Regions from separate parts of the Homo sapiens genome. Here regions 1, 2 and 4 are each linked to region 3. The links are contacts of gene promoters, found by promoter capture Hi-C in human tissues and cell types (Jung and others, 2019). All regions are on one chromosome and are shown on one strand. Each heading gives the region's core, a stretch centred on a gene start or on the middle of the fragment in contact. The rest is flanking DNA. Distances are from core to core; before and after follow the strand shown.

What was found. The method cuts DNA at HindIII sites, captures the fragments that hold promoters and counts their contacts. A contact is called where the count stands out against the background at its distance.
Region 1: a fragment that was not itself captured here is called in contact with the fragment with the promoter of BSN in region 3 in 1 of the 25 tissues and cell types used here (IMR-90 fibroblasts).
Region 2: the fragment with the promoter of GPX1 here is called in contact with the fragment with the promoter of BSN in region 3 in 1 of the 25 tissues and cell types used here (liver).
Region 4: a fragment that was not itself captured here is called in contact with the fragment with the promoter of BSN in region 3 in 1 of the 25 tissues and cell types used here (dorsolateral prefrontal cortex).

The regions. Positions count from the first base shown.
Region 1 is chr3:49,703,335-49,708,629 of GRCh38, reverse strand. RNF123 (ring finger protein 123) reads right to left here. Exons shown (of 39, transcript NM_022064.5): 21 at 5,102-5,203; 22 at 3,874-3,980; 23 at 3,448-3,646; 24 at 2,951-3,096; 25 at 2,565-2,648; 26 at 1,732-1,839. Among named protein-coding and RNA genes, the nearest start is that of AMIGO3, 14 kb to the left of the region's middle. RefSeq lists a silencer at 4,780-5,074. The HindIII fragment of the contact is 7,498 bases long and covers 1-5,295 here.
Region 2 is chr3:49,355,377-49,361,063 of GRCh38, reverse strand. It overlaps GPX1 (glutathione peroxidase 1), which reads left to right and starts at 2,711. Exons shown (of 2, transcript NM_000581.4): 1 at 2,711-3,037; 2 at 3,317-3,888. The coding sequence starts at 2,786. The coding sequence ends at 3,676. It overlaps RHOA (ras homolog family member A), which reads left to right. Exons shown (of 5, transcript NM_001664.4): 5 at 682-1,919. The coding sequence ends at 855. RefSeq lists enhancers at 1,818-2,426, 2,189-2,518, 2,427-3,035 and a silencer at 2,679-2,738. The HindIII fragment of the contact is 32,276 bases long and covers 1-5,687 here.
Region 3 is chr3:49,551,900-49,557,166 of GRCh38, reverse strand. It overlaps BSN (bassoon presynaptic cytomatrix protein), which reads right to left and starts at 2,690. Exons shown (of 12, transcript NM_003458.4): 1 at 2,341-2,690. The coding sequence starts at 2,564. It overlaps BSN-DT (BSN divergent transcript), which reads left to right and starts at 2,801. Exons shown (of 3, transcript NR_038866.1): 1 at 2,801-3,126; 2 at 3,480-3,619. RefSeq lists silencers at 2,303-2,512, 2,583-2,882. The HindIII fragment of the contact is 7,009 bases long and covers 1-5,267 here.
Region 4 is chr3:49,414,381-49,418,471 of GRCh38, reverse strand. It overlaps TCTA (T cell leukemia translocation altered), which reads right to left. Exons shown (of 3, transcript NM_022171.3): 3 at 1,996-3,652. The coding sequence ends at 3,610. It overlaps AMT (aminomethyltransferase), which reads left to right. Exons shown (of 9, transcript NM_000481.4): 8 at 499-654; 9 at 754-1,694. The coding sequence ends at 932. Among named protein-coding and RNA genes, the nearest start is that of TCTA, 4.0 kb to the right of the region's middle. RefSeq lists enhancers at 96-814, 2,241-2,450. The HindIII fragment of the contact is 4,017 bases long and covers 1-3,507 here.

The DNA of each region.
Region 1 (5,295 bases), core at 1,205-3,704, 150 kb before region 3:
TTAGTATAGTCAAATTCAGAGACAGAAAGTAGGATGGTGGTTGCCAGGGGCAACCTGAGCTAGCCTCAGAACAGGGCCATGGTGGTCCCCTCATGACATGGAAGTAAGGCCCAGCTGGGGGTCTGTGAGCCGCTGGCCAGAGCACTCAGGGACCTGATGCCAGAACCACTGCTCCCCCAGCTGCCAGACCCAGGGATCTGCTGACAGGTGGGGATGGGTGGGAGCTGTCAGGGAAGCTGGGGAAGGGAGGACAGGAGGTTTTGTTCAACAGGCACGGAGTATCAGTTTTGCAAGATGAAATGAGTGTGGAGATTGGCTGCACGACAATGTGAATAGACTTAACACTTAAAAATGGCTATGATGGGTGACCGGGCACAGTGGCGCACGCCTGTAACCCCAGCACTTTGGGAGGCCGAGGTGGCAGGATCACATGAGGCCAGGAGTTTGAGACCAGCCACGCCAACAAAGTGAAACCCTGTCTCTACCAAAAAATACAAAAAGTAGCTGGGCGCGGTAGCACATCTATAATCCAGGAGAACTGCTTGAACCCGGGAGACAGAGGTTGCAGTGAGCCAAGATCATGCCATTGCAGTCCAGCCTGGGCAACAGAGTGAGACTCTGTCTCAAAAAAAACACAAAACAAAACAAAACAAAAAAAACACAGCTAGGATGGTACATTTTATGTCACACATATTTTAGCATAACTAAAAAAAGGCAGAGAGATGAGAGGGCAAGGGTCTTGAGAAGACAGTGTGGGAGAGGGCAGCCAAACTTCTGAGGGAGGTGGGCAGGCAGGAAATCTCAGGGCAGAAGGGAGAGGAAGTTCCCGTCATGGGGCAGTAAGCACGGTCATCCAGGGTAGCAGGAGAGTCACGAATGGGAAAAAGGTGGAGGTGGTTTGGGTTTTGCAAAAGAGCCATGAGAAGAAACAGCAAGCAGAGATGATAGAAATGGGGATACCAAAGGCCTCGATCACCCAGTCATGCAGGGGTATGCCCAAGAAGACAGCAGATACCCTGACCTGGGCACCTGAAGAGACCCTCAGGGCACTCACTGGTTAGGGAAGAGATGCCAAGAGGGGCAGGGAGAGGAAACAAGTCCAGAGAGTCTGAGGCCTGGGGGTGAAACTTCAGTCACAGCAGGAGTGCCCCATCCATCTGTCTGTCCATCCATGTATCTGACCAGGCTGAGTGCCTTCAGAAGGCAGAGGCTCATCTTTCTGACTTATTAATGTGTGTGTGTCCCTAGTTCCAGGACAGCACCTGGCACACACCAGGTTTTGAGTGCATGTTATTGAATGAATGAGCAAGTGAATGAGTGAGTGGGGAACAAGCCAGTGGCCTCGGGTGGTAATGAGTCAGACAGAGGCAGGCACAGATGGTGGAGTGTGCCTCCGGGAAAGACTGCAGAGCCCCTGATGCACTGGGAGAGAAGGACGGGGGCCAAGAAACTGGGAGGGGGTGGGAGCAGGGGAGGCAGACAGACAGAGTTTGTTCCTCGAAGGACAGGTCTATGAGGCGAACTGGAGGTCCAGAAACTGCGCTTCCTCAGTCCACAGAGCATGAGGGGTACAGGGGACATGGCATGGGGTGATGGAGTCTGAAGTGTGGGAAGGGACATGTGTGTGCCAGAGGCCTGAGAGGGTGGGGGCATCAAGGGCCCTGGCACAATCTTGCTAGACCCGTGGCCAGACAGTGAGGTCGGGAAGGGGCAGCTGCAATACCAGCACACCTGGGAGTAGACAGTGGCATGGACCCAGGCAAGACGGCGGCTCAGGTGGTCCAGCTTTTCTGAGAAAACCTTCTGGCTCTTGGTCAACTCTGCAAGGATGTCCTTCCTCTGCCACCCAAGGGGAAAGGAGGACAATCAAGACATGGCCCCATACCCAGGTCCACCCTGATCCTGCAGGCAGCCTAGGAAGGGCCCTCTAGTGCCTGGAGCAGGCAAGGGATTGGGCTCCATTTTTCAAAACCTTCTTCTGCCACTGACCCTCTGGTGACCCTGAGCCAGCCTCAGAACAAGGCCATGGTGGTCCCCTCATGACATGGAAGTGAGGCCCAGCTGGGGGTCTGTGAGCCGCTGGCCAGAGCACCCAGGGACCTGATGCCAGAACCGCTGCTCCCCCAGCTGCCAGACCCAGGGATCTGCTGACAGGTCGGGGTGGGTGGGGGCTGTCAGGGAAGCTCAGCCTGGACACACTGGGCCCCACCTTCCTGGGCTAGGGCAGCTACAGCAGAGGGCTCCGGAGGGTGCAGTGGAGCCAGGCCCTGCTTCCTGCTGACTCTGCAAGTGGCCGAGGAAGCACTCAGGGTCAATGAATAATTGATGAGGAGAGTGGGTGTGCTTCAGCACTTATTGGGCCCAGGGGGTGGGGGGCACCTAGGCACAGGCCACACTGGTGATGGGTGCCAGGCCTTGCTGCCAGCCCCACTCTCACTGGCGTGCTATGGCCAGGGCTAGAGTGGGGATGAGAACTGCCAGGGCAGCCCCCAGAACCAGACTTCATCTGTGGTTACCTGTACGAGTAAGCAAGCTGCCCCTCACCAAGACTATGTGGGCCTTACCCTCTTGGGGCACCGGCGGAGCTTGTCCTCTGTGTCCCTCAGAGCCATAGCGTATTCATTGACATCATCGGAGACACCCACCATCTACACAGCATGGGACCACATGTCCAGAGTGCCCCTTGGGCACTTCATCCAGGCTTCTTCAGACCCAGTCTGGACCCCAGCCCTGCCAAGGTCCCAACCTTAGGCCCAGGGCGGTCCCATTCCCACAACAGTCAGCAGGTCAGACTGAGGCAGCAGGAGCAGAAACCAGCCTCGCTGAGGCATGTGCTCCCATGCACGGTCTTGAACAGGCAGCCCTGCGGGCCCATGTGCACACAGGAATACACACACAACCAAACACGCACAACACCCGCCACCCAATGCGGGGTCCAAGAGTGCACGACCTTGCCCAGCTGCTGGTGTACGCTGAGGTTGTACATCATGACCGCCCCATCCAGGACTTCCAGCAGCGAGTTCTCGGTGAGGGGCTGCTCAGGCTCCTCGGGGGGCCGCCCCAGCAGCAAGCCCTCATTCCAGTGGCTGCCTTCAACTGGGGAGTTGGGGAGGGAAGGGTCAAGGGTAGGGCCATCCCGGCTCTCCTGAGCCTGCCTCACAGCAGGAGAGGAAATCATCTCTCCCATTCCTGTGCCCAAGGAGGGACCCGCGGGGAGCCCATGGGGGCATGGGGGTAGGGGTGGAGTGCAGGGCAAGGCCTGCGGTGCCAGGACCTATTTCTGCGGCATTGATCTCCTGCCCTCGGAGTGTGCTTCCTGCACTCCTGGGATGCTGCCAGGCCACAGGGCTGGGAGGGCATGGGGTGTATTTTGGCTTTGCCCGGATCGGGGACTGTACACTGTGGAAGGGTCCTTCGGGGACCTGCCTGACCCCACCAAGCACCTACTGTCCTCACGGGTCCTCTGCTCCACGCTCAGCGTGCGGACCTTCACTTTCTCCGAGGTGCTCAGAGGCCGCCGTGGGGTCATGAGGCTCACAGCCGCTGTGCTGAGGAAGCGGTTGGCTCGGCCCAAAGTTGGAGAACTGAGCCAGCCGGGCCGGGGCAGGGGCAGTGGCCCCCCAACAGCCAGGGCCTGCATGGGGCGCTGCAGTGAAGAAAGGCGGCCAGGACCAGGGCTGGCTCAGGGTTCCCTTGGCCCACGGGGCTGCAGAATTGTGAGGGAGGGTCCATGCCTCCACCCACAGCAAGGCACCAGCCCAGTGAGAAACCCTTTGCCTGCATGGAGCGGGAAGTGGCCCTGGATGAGACCCCTGCCCATAAGATACAGGATAAGCCCAACACAAATCCCACCGCCTGCCCCCACTGCGGCACCTGGGCCATAGCTGGGGCTGGCTCCTCATCCTCATCTAGGTCATCCATGGCGGTTGACTGGAGCTCCAGTGGGTCGATCACAATGTTGGCTTTGGAAGCAAGGTCATCTGGGAGGAAGAGCAGGAGGGTTCTCAGGCCAGTGGTGGCGCAAGGGGCCACAGTGGAAGTGCCCAGGACGGTGAGAGAGCCCAGCACACTGGGCAGGAGGCCTTGCAGAGCCCGGTTTAGCACCGTATCTGCCCCTCGCCCCTCCGCCTCCTCCACCCAGCCTTCACTCTGCATCTCAAGGGCCCCGTCTAGCTGCCACTCAGTAACAGGAGGCCTTCCCCATCACACCCTTCTTTTTCATTTATTTTCAAATTGACTTTCTTTATTCTACATAGATGTAAGCCCATCATGCCCTTCCTGCTGGTCCCTGGCTTTGTTTCCCAGGACTTCCTGCTCTCCAGGGCCTCCCCCACTCTCTGACTACTCCATAAACAAAAGGAGATGCCAGGGCTGCTTCATTCTGGGCACTCCCAGTGGGAGCCAAGCCTCATCCCAGGCTCATCCCCACCACCGTGCTGACAACTGACCCCGCCTTCGCTGCCCCCCGCCCAGGCCTTGCTCCCCGCTAAACGCGCTGTGTCCAAACAGAATTTCTCATCTCCACCACCTCCTGCAGCCCCTCTCCCTGATGGCACCCCATCCACACAACCTCTGGCAGGAAGCCTGGGGTCATCCTGACTCCTCTCCTCCACCTGTGCCCTCCCCTACCTACCTGGGCAGGCCCTTATCTCCTGTGTGGGGACACCTGGGCTCCCTGTCTCTCAGCCCCTGCACTCCGGCGTATACACTGCGGCAGCCAGAGAGAGGTTCTGACAGCACAGACCCACCCTTGTGCCCGGCTCAGGGCCTTGCTCTCGCTGTGCCCTCAGCCCTGCACCGGGGCAGCTTGTGCTCATCCCTGAAGGCAGCTCCGGCAGCACCTGCACGCCCCATCCACACCTCACCAAGATCCCTGGTCCCCTGCCAGGCACGCCCGACCCCTATGGCGTGGGTGCTGGCGGGAAAGAGAAGCTGCCCAGATGTAGGGCAGGCAGATCAGTGTCTCCCTGCCTGAGTGGGTGGAAAGACTTGGGCACCCTCTGGTGGCCATAGGATGGCTCAGCATCCACAGCAGAGCAGGCTCAGGGACAGTCCCCCACCTGGCCCCAGAACTGCTCCCGGCCCACAGGCCTGTACACACCTTTGAGGGTCTTCCGCAGGTGCGAGAGGAGGCCCCCCAGGCGCTGCAGGTCAAAGTAGTCCACCTTGCCATTATAGAAGACCTGGGGCGGGATGTAGGCCTCTGCGAGGAATTGAGGAGGCTAGGCCAGTGGTCACGGCCCAGTAGGAAGACCCTCCCCACAGCCCTCCCCTCCAATCTGGCCTAGCACAGCC
Region 2 (5,687 bases), core at 1,462-3,961, 200 kb after region 3:
CCTCACTGTGTCGCCAGGCTGGAGTGCTGTGGCACGATCTTGGCTCAACTGCAACCTCCGCCTCCCAGATTTAAGCGATTCCCCTGCCTCAGCCTCCTGAGTAGCTGGGGTTACAGGCGCCCACTACCACACCCAGGTGATTTTTTGTATTTTAGTAAAGAGGGGTTTCACCATGTTGGCCAGGATGGTCTTGATCTCCTAAACTCGTGATCCGCCCAGCTCAGCCTCCCAAAGTGCTGGGATTACAGGTGTGAGCCACCACACCCAGCCAAGTTTAACAGCTTTTGAAAGTCTTTTTTTTTTTTAGGCTGGGTACAGTGGCTCATGCCTGTATCCCAGCACTTTGGGAGGCCGAGGTGGGCAGATCACTTGGTCAGGAGTTCGAGACCAGCCTGGCCAAAATGGTGAAACCCCATCTCTACTAAAAAATTACTTGGGCGTGGTGGTGGGCACCTGTAGTCCCAGCTACTCGGGAGGCTGAGGCGGGAGAATCCCTTGAACCCAGGAGGTGGAGGTTGCAGTCAGCTGAGATCATGCCATTGCCCTCCAGCCTGGGCGACCGACGAGCAAAACTGTCTCAAAAAAAGAAAAAAAAATCTTTTAGATGAATTTGAATACTTTTTACTTACTATATGTATGCCACACTATTAGCTAAAAGGACTATTTTTTTTTCTTTGCTAGGAGCCGGTGAAACCTGAAGAAGGCAGAGATATGGCAAACAGGATTGGCGCTTTTGGGTACATGGAGTGTTCAGCAAAGACCAAAGATGGAGTGAGAGAGGTTTTTGAAATGGCTACGAGAGCTGCTCTGCAAGCTAGACGTGGGAAGAAAAAATCTGGGTGCCTTGTCTTGTGAAACCTTGCTGCAAGCACAGCCCTTATGCGGTTAATTTTGAAGTGCTGTTTATTAATCTTAGTGTATGATTACTGGCCTTTTTCATTTATCTATAATTTACCTAAGATTACAAATCAGAAGTCATCTTGCTACCAGTATTTAGAAGCCAACTATGATTATTAACGATGTCCAACCCGTCTGGCCCACCAGGGTCCTTTTGACACTGCTCTAACAGCCCTCCTCTGCACTCCCACCTGACACACCAGGCGCTAATTCAAGGAATTTCTTAACTTCTTGCTTCTTTCTAGAAAGAGAAACAGTTGGTAACTTTTGTGAATTAGGCTGTAACTACTTTATAACTAACATGTCCTGCCTATTATCTGTCAGCTGCAAGGTACTCTGGTGAGTCACCACTTCAGGGCTTTACTCCGTAACAGATTTTGTTGGCATAGCTCTGGGGTGGGCAGTTTTTTGAAAATGGGCTCAACCAGAAAAGCCCAAGTTCATGCAGCTGTGGCAGAGTTACAGTTCTGTGGTTTCATGTTAGTTACCTTATAGTTACTGTGTAATTAGTGCCACTTAATGTATGTTACCAAAAATAAATATATCTACCCCAGACTAGATGTAGTATTTTTTGTATAATTGGATTTCCTAATACTGTCATCCTCAAAGAAAGTGTATTGGTTTTTTAAAAAAGAAAGTGTATTTGGAAATAAAGTCAGATGGAAAATTCATTTTTTAAATTCCCGTTTTGTCACTTTTTCTGATAAAAGATGGCCATATTACCCCTTTTCGGCCCCATGTATCTCAGTACCCCATGGAGCTGGGCTAAGTAAATAGGAATTGGTTTCACGCCTGAGGCAATTAGACACTTTGGAAGATGGCATAACCTGTCTCACCTGGACTTAAGCATCTGGCTCTAATTCACAGTGCTCTTTTCTCCTCACTGTATCCAGGTTCCCTCCCAGAGGAGCCACCAGTTCTCATGGGTGGCACTCAGTCTCTCTTCTCTCCAGCTGACTAAACTTTTTTTCTGTACCAGTTAATTTTTCCAACTACTAATAGAATAAAGGCAGTTTTCTAAACTTCCTGTATCCTGTTGTTTGTGTTGCTCTCTCCAGGGCTGGGGGTAGGAGGATGCAAGGACTTCCTGGCCTAGCTCACCCTGGAGAGGTTTGTTGAGTGCAAAGGACTAGCTTGTGCCCCACCTCCCACCCACCCAGCAGCTAATCTGGTCCCTCCCAACAACATGGAAATGATTACCCTGTACCGCATTCTGGTTCAGATTTGGGGGTAGGGTGAATGCAGCCTGAGGAGGCCAGGGAGGGAGGACTCCGGCAGCGTTTCCTTGGCCTCGGCGAGCTACTGGGCTCCACTTAAGGAGGCTGGGGCAGAGCTTCCAGGACTCTGCCCGGTTAGAAAACCCGCACGAGGGCGGTGCCGCTTTGGAGACAGGGAGGAGGGAGACCGGAAGCCTAGATCCCTCTGGCTGTCCCCTGCACTGCCGGTAACATGGCACAGGAGAGGAGGGCTGTTTGTGCACGGGCAGCTCCTGCAGCTGCTGCCGTCGCCCACCAGCCTCCTATGCCAAACCCCACATCCTAACTCAGGAACCTCTGAGAAAAAACGGAGCCCTCGAGGGCCCCAGCCCTTGGAAGGGTAACCTGGACCGCTGCCGCCTGGTTGCCTGGGCCAGACCAGACATGCCTGCTGCTCCTTCCGGCTTAGGAGGAGCACGCGTCCCGCTCGGGCGCACTCTCCAGCCTTTTCCTGGCTGAGGAGGGGCCGAGCCCTCCGGGTAGGGCGGGGGCCGGATGAGGCGGGACCCTCAGGCCCGGAAAACTGCCTGTGCCACGTGACCCGCCGCCGGCCAGTTAAAAGGAGGCGCCTGCTGGCCTCCCCTTACAGTGCTTGTTCGGGGCGCTCCGCTGGCTTCTTGGACAATTGCGCCATGTGTGCTGCTCGGCTAGCGGCGGCGGCGGCGGCGGCCCAGTCGGTGTATGCCTTCTCGGCGCGCCCGCTGGCCGGCGGGGAGCCTGTGAGCCTGGGCTCCCTGCGGGGCAAGGTACTACTTATCGAGAATGTGGCGTCCCTCTGAGGCACCACGGTCCGGGACTACACCCAGATGAACGAGCTGCAGCGGCGCCTCGGACCCCGGGGCCTGGTGGTGCTCGGCTTCCCGTGCAACCAGTTTGGGCATCAGGTGCGCCGGGCGGAGCGGGGCGGGGCGGGGGCGGACGTGCAGTAGTGGCTGGGGGCGCCGGCGGTGTGCTGGTGGGTGCCGTCGGCTCCATGCGCGGAGAGTCTGGCTACTCTCTCGTTTCCTTTCTGTTGCTCGTAGCTGCTGAAATTCCTCTCCGCCCTTGGGATTGCGCATGGAGGGCAAAATCCCGGTGACTCATAGAAAATCTCCCTTGTTTGTGGTTAGAACGTTTCTCTCCTCCTCTTGACCCCGGGTTCTAGCTGCCCTTCTCTCCTGTAGGAGAACGCCAAGAACGAAGAGATTCTGAATTCCCTCAAGTACGTCCGGCCTGGTGGTGGGTTCGAGCCCAACTTCATGCTCTTCGAGAAGTGCGAGGTGAACGGTGCGGGGGCGCACCCTCTCTTCGCCTTCCTGCGGGAGGCCCTGCCAGCTCCCAGCGACGACGCCACCGCGCTTATGACCGACCCCAAGCTCATCACCTGGTCTCCGGTGTGTCGCAACGATGTTGCCTGGAACTTTGAGAAGTTCCTGGTGGGCCCTGACGGTGTGCCCCTACGCAGGTACAGCCGCCGCTTCCAGACCATTGACATCGAGCCTGACATCGAAGCCCTGCTGTCTCAAGGGCCCAGCTGTGCCTAGGGCGCCCCTCCTACCCCGGCTGCTTGGCAGTTGCAGTGCTGCTGTCTCGGGGGGGTTTTCATCTATGAGGGTGTTTCCTCTAAACCTACGAGGGAGGAACACCTGATCTTACAGAAAATACCACCTCGAGATGGGTGCTGGTCCTGTTGATCCCAGTCTCTGCCAGACCAAGGCGAGTTTCCCCACTAATAAAGTGCCGGGTGTCAGCAGAACTGTGTGTATGTCCTGTGTCATTGTCATTTGGGAATTCTTTTTCTTTTCTTTTTTTTTTTTTTTTTTTGAGACGGAGTTTTTTGCTCTATTGCCCAGGCTGGAGTGCAGTGGCGCAATCTAGGCTCACTGCAAGCTCCGCCTCCCGGGTTCACGCCATTCTCCTGCCTCAACCTCCTGAGTAGCTGGGACTACAGGTGCCTGCCACCACGCCCGGCTAATTTTTTGTATTTTTAGTAGAGACAGGGTTTCACCGTGTTAGCCAGGATGGTATCGATCTCCTGACCTCGTGATCCACCCGCCTCGGCCTCCCAAAGTGCTGGGATTACAGGTATGAGCCACCGCACCCGGCCTGGCGATACTTTTTCTAACCTCATTGTCATAGTGGTGGGAACTTAATCCTCCTTCCCTTATCCTAGCCAAGTCTGAACTTTCTGTCCTTTTGTCTGCAGCGTGTAGGATCCACTCTTTCCTTTGTGGGAAGTCTGGCTCCTGGCCTGCATTTCTGCCTTCACCAGAACATGCAAAGGGCCATCTCAAGACCCAGTTACAACAAAGTCCTTACTTCAAAAAAGACACAAGGCAATGGTTGACTGCCTAACTCAAATGATAGACTTCTGACTACTTGCTGCACGCTGAAATGACTGTCACAAAATAACATGAGCCCCCACTCACATTTGGAGTCATGGCCTCTCCAATTGTTAGGTCCACACAATCCCATTTTACACGGAAGCTCATGCAATGTTATAAATTCTGTTATCTGGCTAGATCTTTCCATGTTGCTACCAAGTGCCTGTATCTGCTGTGACGATGATCTTACAAGTTTCTGCCTCATATATTCAAGAGTGAGAAAACTATAATTTAACTGGCCCTTCTGACTATGCCCTGCCCAACACTTAACGTGCAATTAATTGCACATTCAGGCCCAGGATAAGGGCTTGTCTTTGAAGCCAGCTGCTGCTTCTCGGGCACCACTCAGGTCCAGCCTCTCCATCTGTTGACCCTGCTGCCAATAATCTTTAATTTTTTTTTTTTTTTTTTTTTTTTTGAGACAGTCTTGCTCTGTTGCGCAGGCTGGAGTGCAGTGGTGTAATCTCGGCTCACTGCAAGCTCCGCCTCCCGGGTTCACGCCATTCTGCCTCAGCCTCCCGAGTAGCTGGGACTACAGGCGCCCGCCACCACGCCCGGCTAATTTTTTTCTGTTTTTTAGTAGACGGGGTTTCACCGTGTTAGCCAGGATGGTCTCGATCTCCTGACCTCGTGATCCACCCGCCTTGGCCTCCCAAAGTGCTGGGATTACAGGCTTGAGCAGCAATAATCTTTCAAGACAGATTTGGAGCCATTTCCTAACGCAGTGCAGGGGACTGCAGGGCCTGGGTGTAGCTTCCGCTTGTGCAAACAGGTACCCAGAGACATGGTAGTGCTGTTCACCCGCTGACTGTGGACCAGAGGTTCTGGAGTCCCAGCATTTGTGTTCAAATTCGTGACTCAAGGTCCTTCTTAGTCTGAACCAACTCTCAAGGACTTTTCCTCTTGCCCTAAGCAGTGATCTTTGCTGCTGCTTTCCCCCTTTGTCTGCCCTTAGGTCACTAAGGATTGTAGGGCCTTCTGGACCTGCTCTGGCTCCATCCTGAGAACTCCTGAACAGGCCCACCTCCCTCTGGTTCTCTCTGCCCCAGCCTTTGAGTCCCCCTTGGGGTGACCCAGGTAGAACTATCAGCTTCCCCTTTGGACCTCACTCTACTTGTGTTGTTCCTTGGAACTCTCAGGAGTCTCACTCTTGCCCAGGCTGGGGTGCAGT
Region 3 (5,267 bases), core at 1,441-3,940:
AATGCCCAAAGCTCCACATCATCCCGACGGGCTAAGAGGCACCACTATGGGTGTGGCAGCACTGCTACTCATGGGATTCAAGTCAGGCTCTTCAGCAGCAAATGCTGGAGCCACCCCCTCACAGAGTCCAACTCAGCTCAGTATGAGGATGAAAAGACTAATTCAGCCTGGGATGACAAGGTAATATGGCAATAGCATTTAACTCCCCCAGAATCATCTCCCTTTTACCTGGCCTTCTACCCACCTCTATGAGGTTTCTGACTGCCCCGAAATTCAAAATCTTACTGAAAGCAAATATGTCTTTGTGCTAATGCTCTTTCCTGAATGCCCAGAAGCACATTCACAGGGCTTTTTCCCCATCAATGGGCCAATCTGTTCAGCAGCATCTTAGAACATGCTAAATTTGGCATCAGGTATCTGAGATGCTCTAGTGAGAGGAAGTAGAAGCCATTGCAATACTAAAGGAGAGATAAGCCATGGAGCTGCTGCTCAGCTGAGGTGCTATGATAAAATGAATATCAGCTGGAGGAGTAAATCCCACCTCCTAATGGTCTCTGGTTCTGAGCTTTGGGGACAAATAGCCAGCTCACCTCCTGAGTCTGATAGTCACAGGACCTCAGCACCACAGGCTCAGGTATGAGCCTTGCCCACAGCCAGGTAAGAGATTGTGTGACTACTAAATCCATCAGGAGTCCGTGGTTCGCCTCACCCACAGCAGTTCATGGGTCTGCCTGCAGCAGAATGTACAGATGAAGTACAAATGAAACACTAAAAAGGCATATGAGCAATAGACATCAGCCTCCTTCCGGTCCCTCTGAGCTGCCCAGGTCTTTCCAGAATTTCATATGATTGGCTCTGCAACATCTGATAAACTACAAGCAGAGCAGCCTGTTTGGTTATCAGAAGAGAAATGACAAATTCCCCATACAGGGAACTCTCAATAACAAGGTGTTTTTCCATTCAGCTACAGAAGCTTTCCCTTGGAAGGAGAACACTAAAGCCTGGGTGAGCCTCCCTCAAGCTAAAACCCAAACAGCAACTCAACATGCAGCAAAATGGACAGTGTTTGCAGTGCTAAGAGCTGTGTGCTATCCAACTGCATTACTATTATAGCTAGTATAAAATGGACAAATCCCACCTCTAAAAAGGATGCTCACAGGCTGACCTGTCTGCCGCAGGTTTCAAGCTACTAACAGCCTTTCATTACTGTTAGTTGTCTAAGAAATGACTTCTGAGGAAATAAACACACAAGAGGCACAGTCGGGCAGCCAAAGAATAAAAAATTATGCGTCCTCAGTTTATGTGCTTCCACACAGAAAAGCCAGGGCAACATATATCAGCAGACCCACATGGAGCTGGAAGCACCTCCCTCCCACCCCCTGGGGGTTTTGCTACTCCCCAAGCCTATTTGGTGCAAAGATAATGCCTTCCATTTTATCGTGTCATCTCTTAGTAGTTTTCCTGAGTTTTCAGTCTACTGACTTATTATATATTGGCATTCCCTTACAGCCTTCATTGCCACTTGACTGTTTTTGCAGGACCTGGGTTGGCATACATTTAAAACAAACTGGTTTCACAGTATTTAATCAGATATGTTCTGTTTAAAGCATTCTGTGTGGGTTTCAGCTTTTCCACTGGTTTGATCTAAATCATAAGGTAACGAGAACATATCTGGTGCTGGATGACTCAATAGCATTTTTGCTTCACCCCAAAATGTTTCCCTAAACCTTGGTGAAAGCACATGATCCTATTAGTATTGTTGGGCCTAAATAAGCACCTCTTGGTGTCCAGTGGGCAATTTTCCTTTCCCCCAAAGGTGATTACAGCCACTAAATGCCCAAGGAAAGCCCAAGACCAAGTTCATGGTTCAACTATTTTCATCTCTCTGTTCCTCGCAGTGACACTTATCTTCCCTGACAGCCACTCCCATTGTGCTGTTTTCTCGGCCCAGCACAATGGACACATGCAGACACCAGCAGACAGGGAGGACGTTTTCCATCCCATTGCTCTCCTGTGCGGAGGGACCAGGTTAAGGTTACATAAGCCCCTCCTGAGCAGTCAGGCCCGAGCGTTGGGGAGAAGCGAATTTGGGGTTCGTGACGGAGTCACGGTCTGCAGGCCCCGACTGACCCTGCGCTCGTCATCCTGCCACGCCAAGGCGGGGCAGCTGGAAAGGAAGGGCCGCTTCCCGCGACCACCCAGTTCACGCCAATCCGGCAGGGTTCAGAGTGCGGCCGGACGTCGAACCTCGCTGTCCACACTAGATCGCGGGATCCTGGGCCCGGGTCCCGGCCTCAGGCTGCAGCTCACCGCCCCCCGGGCGCCGAGACACGCGCTTACCTGCCCGGGCCAGGGCCGGGACCGGGGCCGGGGCCGGGGCCAGGGACCGGTGGTACCGCGGTCGACCGCGCTGCTCCCGCCGCGGGGAGCTGTCCGCCACCGGCCGGTGCTGAAGGCGGCTTTCCTGCGCCGGGGCCGGGGCCGGGGCCCGGGCCGGGGCCGGCGCCGCCGGGCGGCAGCGGCCCGTCGCCAGCGCCGCCCTCCAGGCTGACCTCGTTGCCCATGGCGGGCAGGCGGGCGGGCGGGGTCGGGGTCGCGCTGCGCCCGGGCCGGCGGCTCCCGGGCGGTGCTCACACTCTCGGCGCCGCCGCTGCCGCCGCCATCTCCCAGCTCGGCTCGCGCCGCCGCCTGCCGCTGCGCATGCGCGTCTCGCGCCCCCTTCCCTGCACACGCCCCCCTTCCCCTGTGCGCGCTCCCGCCAGCCTCGGGGTCGCTGGGAAACAGCCGCCGGCGCCCGCGCATGCGCTGTCCAGGGCCGACGCGGTTGTATCATGCTGAGAAGGAGCCGGGCGGGGGCCGGCGGGGCTGCGAGGGCCCTGTGAGGAGGGGCACCTGCCACTAGAAGCGGCCTCTGGGACGTCGCGCTGAGCCCTGCTTTGGAGTCAGAGGGGCTTTCCGCCTCGGTGAACTCGAGAGTAGCAACTCTCCTCCGGGTAACCGGAGTGCCACAGCGGGCAGGCGTCATAAGGACAGGCCTCGGAGAGGAGAGGGGCTACCCGAGAATGGCCTCAAAAGTATGCATAGGAGTTGGGAAGGCAGAGGAACAAGTGTATTCAGAGACGCAAGGTCGTAGAGGGAAGGAGAGGGAGGGTGCTGGGTGGTCGGGCCGGATTGTGAGGGTCTTTAAGGCCAGCTGGGGAGTGGAGCCTTTATCCAGATGGCGATGGGAACCATCTGGGATTCACACTGAGGAACTGGGAGTCTCAGGAAGCGCCCCGGGCACAGATGGAAGGTGTGACAGGGCTGTGTGAAGCCAGCTGGGAGGCCACCTCAGTCAGCCCTGGGAGAGTGACCTTGGGGATGGAAAAGAGGACTTGATGGTTCTCAGGCCTGGAGCTGTCTCGATGCGGGGCCGCAGGTTGCCTCTGCATTACCCTGAGAGCTTTCCAAATTACTTCCCCGCTCCCTCACATTTACAGCCGGTTTCTGCCCGCTACTCAGGATTGTCTGCCGTGGTGGCTTCTCACACAAGCCTGTACTTTCCTGTGGGAGAATATTTCCTAGGAGCCTATATTCCAGTTCATCTCTGACGTCATAAATCATGACTGTGTAGAAAGGCGTGAGTAACTTGAACCCATTTTACAAACCCATTCAATTCTCCTAATGTTGCGAAATATATCACATAGGGTGTTAGCAGTTCTAACTGAACCTAGAATAATCCAGGGATCCCAGTGAATGCTGATAGCCAGCCTGCTGGACAGACCGGTGGCTGTGTCAGTTCTTGTGAGGAGGGGCCAGGACCCTCCCTGGGCCTTCCCCTGTGCACTCCGAGCTGCTCCTCCCGACCTCTGGGATGGAGCAAGTAAGAGAAAGAGGAAATGCAGAGCCCCCACTTCCTGATATTTTCTCCTGACTTCATACCTCCCGTTTTCACGCTAAACTGCCTGGCCCCTCTGGGATGACCTAGGATGAAGAGAGCCTCTCTTCCTGCAGATGATGGTCCTTGCTGTGTTTCCTCCTGTGCTGCAGGATGTTTGATACAGCTTCGTGAGTGGTGACTACATGTGCACATTTAGGCTCCAAAAGAGTCTGCACCTCAGCCCCGATAGGACCCTTGGCAACTGACTTAGGCTCACTGAGCCTCCATTTCCTATTCTGCAAAGTTAGAATCTTAGTAGCTCCTCGAATATGGGGGATTGTAAGGGTAGAGTGGCTGATGTAGATATTTTATTTTTTATTCATTTTATTTTTTTTATTTTTATTTTTTGGAGACAGACTCTCGCTCTGTCACCCAGGCTGGAGTACAGTGGTGTGATCTCGGCTCACTGCAACCTCCACCTCCCGGATTCAAATGATTCTCCTGCCTCAGCCTCCCTAGTAGCTGGGATTACAGGTGCCCACCACCACACCTGGCTAGTTTTTGTATTTTTAGTAGAGATGGGATTTCACCATGTTGGCCAGGTTGGTCTTGAACTCCTGACCTCTGGTGATCCTCCCACCTCGGCCTCCCAAAGTGCTGGGATTACAGGCATGAGTCAATGCACCCAGCCTGATGTAGGTAAAACACCAGGACAAGTGCCTGGTATACTTATGACAACTCTGTTATTAGTTGTCTCCCTGGTGATGGTCTGGGATGTGGCGGTCTTGTGCCATATATTTCCTCCTGGGGAAGAATATGCTCACAAACACTATGGGCAGGCCAGTGGCCTGACCTTGTCCCAACCCAGGCTGTTATAGCTTCACAGACCCCAGTCAGTGTGGGTTGGGCTACTTGAAACAGGGGAAAGGATGTTTATTTTTTTGTTTTTGTAGAAACCACAGGAGCTATGGCTTTCCACAGATTTAAATCAACATGCCTCTGGTTCCTGTGTGGTTAATTAGCTCTACCCAGCCTGCAGGCTTGGGGAGTTGCCCTCCTCAGAGTGGATTCCTGGCTGTTAGCAGACCTCCAGGGTCTTTGCTGCCCTGGTGACAAAGGGCACAGCACAGTGGACCCAGGAGACCTGAAAATGTGGGTTAGAGGTGCCCCTCCTCTCCTCTCAAACTCTCCCAGTTCTGTTTCCTTTGAGGAGCATCCCCAGGAACATGCCTGCCCTGTGTTCATTCACCCTTGACATTCAGCCCAGGGACTCTTGTGGACCATGGGATGGTATTGGCCTCTGGTTATCTGGGGCTCTGATTCAATCTCCCATTTCCATTCACTGTCCCAGAGGCTGTTTACCTCCTTTTGATCTAGACTGGGGCTCCTCAACAGCAGGACCTTGTCT
Region 4 (4,091 bases), core at 250-2,749, 140 kb after region 3:
TGGTGGCTCACACCTGTAATCCCAGCACTTTGGGAGGCCAAGGTGGGTGGATCATGAGGTCAGGAATTCGAGAATAGCCTGGCCAACATGGTGAGACCCCGTCTCTACTGAAAATATAAAAATTAGCCAGGCGTGGTGGCGGGTGCCTGTTATCCCAGCTACTCGGGAGACTGAGGCAGGTAAATTGCTTGAACCTGGGAGGCAGAGTTTGCAGTGAGCTGAGATCGTGCCACTGCATTCTAGGCCTGGGCGACAGAGTGACTCCATCTCAAAAAAAAAAAAAAGAAACTGAAGACGCTCGGCAGGTGGGCAGCATGGCCTCCAGGGGATAGGAGGTGGTTGGTTGGCTGACGGCAGTGAAGGGAGGAATAGAGCCTGGAGTAGCCCAAGCAAAGGGGCCTTGATGCTAGATAGTGTGTTACTTGAGGACCTCATAAGGACCTCCTGTGGCCAGGGCTTCTATGGGCTGTGGCTTATGTCTCATGTGTCATTCTCCAGGGAAGCGCCGCCGAGCTGCTATGGACTTCCCTGGAGCCAAGGTCATTGTTCCCCAGCTGAAGGGCAGGGTGCAGCGGAGGCGTGTGGGGTTGATGTGTGAGGGGGCCCCCATGCGGGCACACAGTCCCATCCTGAACATGGAGGGTACCAAGATTGGTAGGTGGACCAGGGAAGCTGGGAAACCCTTGTCTCTTCCCAGGAGGGTGGGGGCACTGGCAGGGTGGTGCTGATGCGTGGCTTATGCTTGCTTGACAGGTACTGTGACTAGTGGCTGCCCCTCCCCCTCTCTGAAGAAGAATGTGGCGATGGGTTATGTGCCCTGCGAGTACAGTCGTCCAGGGACAATGCTGCTGGTAGAGGTGCGGCGGAAGCAGCAGATGGCTGTAGTCAGCAAGATGCCCTTTGTGCCCACAAACTACTATACCCTCAAGTGAAGCTGGCTCAGGGTGGGGCTGTCCCTTCCAGGAGTTTTGCCCCTACAAGGGGTTAGTCAAGAAGCTGAGGCAGAACTCACTGGGGGTGGGCAGTTAAGGTGGAGGCTGATTCTAATTGTCTGGTTGAGGGGCCACACCACCTATTCCCCCCACCTAACTCATGCCATTCCAGCTTCCTTCAGGACCCTGCTTCTGAGTGACGGACCAGCTCACACAATGTCTTGTTTCAGTCCATGATCCCACTGACCTACTCTTGCCTGCTGGAGGGTAATGAGAAGCTTTGGTTCTGCCATCTCTCCCACTCTGCCAGGTGCTGGCTGTGGAGCAAAGGCTCACCTTTGTGGAGAGGATAAAACCTGCCCAACCTACCTCACCATGGTTTTTCACATTGCAAAGGGTAATAACATGGGCAGTGCGGACTTAGGCTACCCCCTCCAGTTTGCTTTCCGTAAATGCAAATTGTCCTTACTGCAAGTCAGGAATGATTGCTGACTCACAGTAGGGCTGCTATGCCTGTGTGTAAACTTGGGGATGGCTGAGGGAACATAGACTCACTCTTCCACATTCCCAAGTTGGTCTAGTGTGCTGCCCAGTAGCAAACCATGGCAGACTCACCACCTATTCTGAGTTCCAGGGCTGCTGTAGGGCAGGGTGGGCTTCCTCCCAGACTTGCCTTACCCTGGGCTGATCTTTGCCCCTGGTATGCATTAATGGACTCCACTGAATCCTGAAAAAAAAATTAAACTTCCTTCTTACTTGCCAGTCTCTAGCTTCATTGTTCTCTGTTCACAGGGTTCCTGAAATGCCAACCCAATGCCTGCCTTCCTGGCCTCCAAGACAAGCTTGGAATAGGTTCTCCTTGAAAGGGGCCAGTCTATAAAAATGGAGATATTGCCCCTGTTGGGCACCCCATCCCTGCTCCTCCAGGGAGCTGCATCACCTCTCCCCTCCCTGCAAGTTATTGCATCTGGGTCCCAAGGGGCAACAGCTTCCAGGATGTTCCCTCTCTCACTGCCCCTGTGCATGCACACCCTTGTTCTGTCTGAATAACCACAACAACCGATGCACTTCCGTGTTTAATAAGCCACATCCTCAGTTGAGCCTGGGGTGAAATGTGAGATCCTGACTCTGTGCAGTAGTATTAGTGGGTGGGCCAGGGGCTGTGAATAACATCATCCTCAGTACAGCTGCAATTCCAGGGCCCCTCTACCACAAAGATGGCTTAAGCAAAGGCAGCCAGATGGAAGTATGATATCCAACAGGAAGGAAGTAGGCAGGGGTCACTAAAGTGGCTGGTGGCCCAGCAGATGGAAACAGAAGTATGGCCCCGAGGGAAGGAGGCAGGTCCAGGGCTACAGTGCTTTCAGGTACTGGTGTTTCTATAGGGGCATTTGCCACCCACATCTTTGGAAACTCCCCTGGCCTATTGTGACATGGCAGGGCTGCCTGGTTCTTGAAGGTAGAGAAAATGCTAGTGGGGAGGAGCTGAGCCTGTGACGTGCATTTGTACCAGGTCCAGATGGGAAATGATGAGGCTGCAGGCTATGATGGGGCCACTGTGCACTAAATGCTTGGTACCATCCTATGAGGGGACAAGGTGCAGACCCACATTCCCATAGGCACTTAAGCAGTGGTGGATAGGAGGCTACCCCAGGGGTTCAGCTGTCCTTCAGGTAATCAGCTTACCCCCAAGAAGGACTGAGAGGAATATGAGTAGGACAGTTGGCAGATGACAATTTCCTTTGCCTGGCTCACGGGAGAAGTCTGGTTGGGCCAGGTATGTGGGTGTTTGGTGCCTCCATCTGGATAGTGCCAGCAGGTACACCACCCTGCCTTATACCTGAATGGCCAGCTAAATAACCATAGAGCTTAAGGTCTGGCTCAGGTCAGGATTCCCTGGCTCCTTGCCAACAAAGCAAAACCAGAGATTCAGAAAACTCAGGGCCTAGGAGAAAACAGACCTGCCTTACAAACCCCAGAGCTGGTCAACCTCAGGCTTCCTCTCAGGAAAAAAATTTTTTTTTTGAGATGGGTCTTGCTCTGTTGCCCAGGCTGGAGTACAACGGCGCAATCTTGGCTCACTGCAACCTCTGCCTCCCAGGTTCAAGCAAATCTCCTGCTTCAGCCTCCTGAGTAGCTGGGATTACTGGTGTGTGCCACCACACCCGGCTAATTTTTGTATTTTTAGTAGAGATGGGGTTTTCACCATGTTGGTCAGGCTGGTCTCGAACTCCTGACCTCGTGATCTGCCTGCCTCAGCCTCCCAAAGTGTTGGGATTACAGGCGTGAGCCACCATGCCTGGCCAACTCAGGAAAAATTTTTATGGGGTCACATCTTGGGGATGGAAGAGGGACAGGAAAAGAAACCTAAGACAAAAGAACTGATGGTCTTCCCAACCCAGAGGCTTCCTGAGTTATCACCCCTGAGAGAGGAAGAACACAATCTCTCTCCTTAAGGCACCCAGATAAGAGTACAGGCAAACTCTTCACTTGCCCAGTGCCTGGGTGAGGGAGCAGGCTTAAGAGGCAGAAGAGGCCCAGCCCTGTAGGCACTGGGTACTCCCTGCTACCAACCCTGAACCCCCGGCAGTTGTCCCTGAGGTCTGGGGAGTAGCAGAACCCAGTGTAGAAGCCAGCAGACCCAGTGATGCCCTTGGAGACCCTCTGCTGCCTTCCCTTATTCTCTGTGGGTTTTGAGAGGTTCGTTTGCTGCCATTTCCCTGAAAGTGATGGAGAGAGAGAAGAGAGAGTGGTTATTCCATGGGCAGAACAGTTGCTGAAATTGGCTCTCCCAAGCTCCTTCTTGGGGGCTGAGCTAGGCTCAGTAAGGTCACATAACAATCTAGACCTCTCTGCTGGTCTCCCACAGCCCACCCTGGGCCCAGCACCTTCTCCCTGCAGACTCATTCTTCTTCCTGGTTCTCCATGTTAGTACGGCATTGCCATCCTTCTCTAGTTTTTTTATTCTTTTTATTTATTACTATTGTTATTACTTTTCTTTTTTTGAGACGGAGTTTCACTCTTGTTGCCCAGGTTGGGGTGCAATGGCAAGATCTCAGCTCACTGCAGCCTCCACCTCCCGGGTTCAAGCAATTTTCCTGCCTCAGCCTCCCAAGTAGCTGGGATTACAGGCGCCCGCCACCACACCCAGCTAGTTTT